2 separate regions of the Homo sapiens genome follow, and region 2 is linked to region 1. Evidence: promoter capture Hi-C in 16 types of primary human blood cells and fetal thymus (Javierre and others, 2016). All regions are on one chromosome and are shown on one strand. Each heading gives the region's core, a stretch centred on a gene start or on the middle of the fragment in contact. The rest is flanking DNA. Distances are from core to core; before and after follow the strand shown.

Region 1 (2,700 bases), core at 144-2,643:
ATTTAAACACATATTATGAGGCTAAACCAAGTTTCATCTGTTTTATTAACTCCTATTGCCTGACTTTGAAGTACTCAGTAATAGTTGATGAATACAGAAAACAATGGTAAAGGTCAGGTAGATTTGATCGGATTTGAGTTATGTGTTAGTAGAGAGCTATTTAAAGGTTTGTTGTTGTTTTTAACAGGAGTATCAAGTGAGATTGATTTTTCATCTCTTCACCAGGCTCTCTGTTCTTTTAGAAAGGCCTGTCAGCTAGCTCCATCCCTAACACTTTCAGGGATGTTGACCCCTAGCTGGCAAAACTTGTGTTTAAAATCCCAAATATTAAGCAGATGAAAAACTTGGATACTAAATACTTTCATAACTCATCTCCACGAATTTGTACGTCTGAGGGAGCAATACACAGCTGCAGGTCCATCAAGGCCACAAAAGCTAACTACAGAGATAGTCTTTTAGCTATTTTGAAATCAGTAGGGCCTGACTACAGCCATCTGTCGCATACCCATTACTCTTACTAAGGTCCTGCTGGCGTCAGAGAGGTGGTTCTACGATGCACGGTAGGAGTGTGTCTGGCCAGAGAAGTGGGGAGGCTCAGCTGCCTTGGGAGGTGCAAGTAGTAGCGCTAGGAAGCTGCTGCTAGGCCTCTGGCAAGAACACCAACTGATCCGCAATGCGCCTGGCCAAACTGCAGCAGCCTGCTCTGCAAATACTGCATAACAGAAAAAGCCTGTATTGGAGAATATAAGAATCCGCGGCAGAAACGGAGTGCGCGACGATTCTAAGGTTTTTACCCAGCACGGCTCCCCCATCAGACTGCAAATCCCAGCATTCACTCCTTCCACGGGAGCCAATGAGGAAGCTACTAGTTCCCGCAGCCAATCACATTCTGAGCCAGTGTATCACCCGACTGAATTCTGGGATTTGTGGTTTTTACGTGGCAACATTACACCACGGTGGCTACGGCAATGCAGGCCACGCGTCTGATCCCAAACGACACCTCCCTGTTATAAATTCTTATGTTGGTTCCGCAAGCTAACTCCTTAACTGTCGTTACTCCCAGGCTTCCTCCTTCTCAAAGCTCGTAATCTTTTTCTCTTAATGTCATTAAACAATCAAGTTATTTTCAGATTAAGGCCCACTTGCTCCACTCGTCCCCTGTCCCTTAACCGTCGCTTTAGAGTCTCGCGAGAACAGCCCCTTTTTTTTGTGTTGTCATGCCTCCAAAAGGCGGGTCACATGAAAACTGACACAGGCTTCAGCCAACCGAATTGTTTTTTAACTCTCTTCTCCACAGCGTGCGTGGGGAGGCCTCCGTGAACTCTGACCTTAGCTTTCCGTAGCGCCCGCGTCTGCCGCCCCCGCCCCCGGAGCGAAGGAGGCGGGCTTTGGCCTTTTGCCCTAGGGAGCGAGTGCGGAGCGAGTGGGAGCGAGACGGCCCTGAGTGGAAGTGTCTGGCTCCCCGTAGAGGCCCTTCTGTACGCCCCGCCGCCCATGAGCTCGTTCTCACGCGAACAGCGCCGTCGTTAGGCTGGCTCTGTAGCCTCGGCTTACCCCGGGACAGGCCCACGCCTCGCCAGGGAGGGGGCAGCCCGTCGAGGCGCCTCCCTAGTCAGCGTCGGCGTCGCGCTGCGACCCTGGAAGCGGGAGCCGCCGCGAGCGAGAGGAGGAGCTCCAGTGGCGGCGGCGGCGGCGGCAGCGGCAGCGGGCAGCAGCTCCAGCAGCGCCAGCAGGCGGGATCGAGGCCGTCAACATGGCGAGCGCCTCGTACCACATTTCCAATTTGCTGGAAAAAATGACATCCAGCGACAAGGACTTTAGGTGAGGCCGAGATCCGACCCTCACCCCACCTCGGGGTTCTCGCAGCCGCGGCCCTGGCCGTCACGCAGGCCTTGCCCCACCCCTTCGGCCGTAGCCGGTAGCTTCTCTGCCCCGAAGTCTCCAGCCCACCGGTCCGCTGGCCTCCCGATCCCTGCGGAGCCCCTTTCCTCTCCCCTCTTGCAACCCCCTCCCCCCATTCTTTCTCCTAGGCAGTTGCCCGCCGCGGTCTCTAGGCCCCGTTTGCTTGTCTCAGCGCCCCCACATCCTTCCCTGCCCCACCAGGAGGCGATTCTTGCGTCTCAGGTAGCGCGAAGGGGCTAAACCACCCACCATTGTGGAGAAGGGAGTTGCTCTAGGCCGGGAGACCGGGCGCCGGGCCTATTCGCTTGCCATCCTGCGGCGCTAGGCCGCCTTGCTCGCTGGGGCCCAAGCTGCTGCCCACTCGGGGACCCGGCAGCCTCCTCTCTGCCCGCAGGTGCGCGTGGGCCTTGCTGCATTCAGGTGGAATGATGAACTTTTGCGCTCTTGGCTGATACATAGTTCTTTTGTGGATTATTAATTTTCGTGAAGGTGGGAAGAAGGGGGAGGGGAGCCAGGATGGAGGAAACTTCGCTCATAGGGTTTTCCCGCCAGCATCACTGTCAGTTCCTCTTGTCAGGTAAAACCAACTTAGGAACTCGGGGTTTCAGTCTCATGTCCTCATATCCAAAATCACTGCCAAAGGGGTGGATTGCTGGATCTTAATCATAGCAGACGGATCTTCAAAAGGAAGAGATGTTTAATACGGACCTGGTGAATATGAAGCTTTATTACAGCAGTTCTGTTCAGGAGATCGGTACTGTTGGTTCCAAAGTGTTGTAATATGCATAGTGAAGATTT
Region 2 (2,700 bases), core at 54-2,553, 2.3 Mb after region 1:
TTAAAGGACTGTTTAGATTGTTTACTGCTGTGCAACAAACCACCCTAAAAGTTAGTGGCTTAAAGCAGCAATCATTTAATGTCTCAAGTTGCTATAGATCGAGATGGGCAGGGCACAGCAGAGATGGCTCATCTCACATGATGTCTGGAGGCCTGGCTTCCTCATATGCTTTGTGCCTATGCTAGTATGATTCAAGCAGCTGAGGGCTGGCTGGACCAGTTCCACTAGGTTATGTCTGGAACTTAAAGCTCTCAGCTGTGTTCCTTAGTTTTCTTCCATGAAGTCTTGGGTCTTTCTTCATGTGGTCTTCTTACATGGCAGCTTAGGGTTCCCAAGAGCACAAAAGTAGATGCTGCTAGGCTTTCTTGAGGCCTAAGCCCAGAACTGGCACAATGTCAATTCTGTTGTATTTTGTTGAATTACAGTGGCTCATATAAAAGCATGAACATCAAAAGTGTAGTTTATTCAGGGCCACCAATGTAATAGAGGGCCTAAAGGAGGAAGAATTAACACCTCTGATTGATAAGGGGAATGACAGAAATGGAGGGGTCAAGGATGACCCCCAGTTATCTGGTTTGGGTGACTGAGATGGTTGATGGTGTCAGTTCATTGAGATTTAAGATATATTTGGGGGCTGGGCATGGTGGCTCATGCCCGTAATCCCAGCACTTTGGGAGGCTGTGGAGGGTGGATCACTTCAGCCCAGAAGTTTGAGACCAGCCTGGGCAACATGGTGAAAACCTGTTTCTATGAAAAAATACAAAAATCAACTGGCGTGGTGGTGTGTGCTTGTAGTCCCAGCTACTCAAGAGACTGAGGCAGGAGGATAGATTAAGCCTGGGAGGTTGAGGCTGCAATGAACTGTGATCCTGCCACTGTGGTCCAGCCTGGGCAACATAATGAGACCCTGTTTTTTTTTTTTTTAAAGTGCTCCTCTAAGTGTGCTCCACAGACTGATTCCTGTGTACAAACTATCACGGTCTGCAACAGGAGAAATATCAAGTCTTCTAACCTTCTCCCTACTACCCAAACAGTAGGTGTCTGGGTGGACCCAACTTAATGTGACTGTGGACTCCTGGTCCTTTATTTGGTTTCCTTCCCCAGGTATTCTAACTGTTCCTGAGGAATGTTGACAAGTCCCATAACTCTGTTCTGGTGGTTGTTTGCCACTTCGCCAGTTATTTCACTCCAGTTAATGAATCTACCCTTGCTCCCAAATCACCTCTAGCCATCAAATAATGATATGCTACAGTGCTTTCCTACTTCCATAACATGCCAAGCATATCCAACCTCGGCTACTATATTTATAAAGCCTATTAGAAGACTTGGGATATAATGATAACAATAGCTAAGCTAAACAGGCACTGTTCTAAGCTATTTAATCTGTGATAATTATCTCCATTTTACACAAAGGGAAATTGAGGCACAGAGAGATTATATAACTGGAAGCTGACCAGTTAACAAAAAGCCAATTCACTGAAAGCCAAATTATACCAAGGGGAAGAGAGAGGAGGACACAGGGTCATAGAGAGGAGAGGGTCACAAAGACTTTGAGGGAGGAGGAAGGGTTAACTAAGAGAAGCCAAGACCAAGGGACTTGAGAGTAGAGGACAGAAGATGAGCCAGGAGAAAGTCACACAACGTGTTTAATCACAGAAACATGGATTCCCAAGGTCTCACTATCTCCATAGGCCCTGTAACCTATCTAATACAAATTACGATAAAATGTATAAATAGATGGGCACAGTGGCTTCTGCCTGTAATTCCAGCACTTTGGGAGGCCAAGGTGGGCAGATCGCATGAATTCAGGAGTTCAAGACCAGCCTGAGAAACATGGCAAAATCCCGTCTCCACCAAAAATACAAAAAATTAGCTGGTGTGGTGGCGCATGCCTGTATTTCCAGCTACTCGGGAGACAGGTCGGAGGATCGCTTGAAGTCAGGAGGCAGAGGTTGCAGTGAGTGGAGATCACACCACTGCACTCCTGCCTGGGTGACAGAGTAAGACCCTGTCTCAATTAAAAAATATATATATAGGTGTGGTGGCTCATGCCTGTAATCCCAGCACTTTGGGAGACTGAGGTGGGCAGATTGCTTGAGGTCAGAAGTTCGAGACCACCCTGGCCAACATGGTTAAACCCTGTCTCTACTAAAAATACAAAAATTAGCCAGCTGTGGTGGTGCATGCCTGTAGTCCCAGCTATTTGGGAGGCTGAGGCAGGAGAATTGCTTGAACCCGGGAGGCGGAGGTTGCAGTGAGTTGAGATCATACCACTGCACTCCAGCCCGAGCGACAGAGTGAAACTCTGTTTCAACAACAACAACAACAACAAAAAAGTATAAACAGCTAAAAGAGACAGTTTTTGGTAAACCAGCACATTGATCACGCTCTGAATGGCCTTCAATGAACTGATTTAAAGAGCCTGTGAAACCCACCCAAGACTACAAAGCTAGTACGTAAAATGGTTGAAATTCAAACTCATATAGTCTGGGTCTAGAAGCTGAGTGTTTAGCCTCTAGGTGTAGAGGTGTCATCAAAGGAGGGGGAAGTAGGAAAGAAGGAAGGGTCAAAAGATGCAATGGAGAAAGGACACATTTCCAAGGGTCCCATCATAGAGTCTCTTCCTGGCTGCCTCTAGCCTCAGTTCCACAAGGTGGCAGGGCCTGCCTCCTTCTCCCCATCCAAATGCCTCTGGCTACA

The links. The method cuts DNA at HindIII sites, captures the fragments that hold promoters and counts their contacts. A CHiCAGO score of 5 or more calls a contact.
Region 2: a contact is called between a fragment that was not itself captured here and the fragment with the promoter of CAND1 in region 1, in 4 of 17 cell types (neutrophils, total B cells, fetal thymus and 1 more). The highest score is 11.0, in neutrophils.

What each region holds. Positions count from the first base shown.
Region 1 is chr12:67,267,965-67,270,664 of GRCh38, forward strand. It overlaps CAND1 (cullin associated and neddylation dissociated 1), which reads left to right and starts at 1,394. Exons shown (of 15, transcript NM_018448.5): 1 at 1,394-1,821. The coding sequence starts at 1,754. RefSeq lists enhancers at 530-829, 970-1,229, 1,509-2,160. The HindIII fragment of the contact is 8,089 bases long and covers 1-2,623 here.
Region 2 is chr12:69,580,736-69,583,435 of GRCh38, forward strand. No RefSeq gene overlaps it. Among named protein-coding and RNA genes, the nearest start is that of MIR3913-2, 2.6 kb to the right of the region's middle. The HindIII fragment of the contact is 3,759 bases long and covers 1-2,700 here.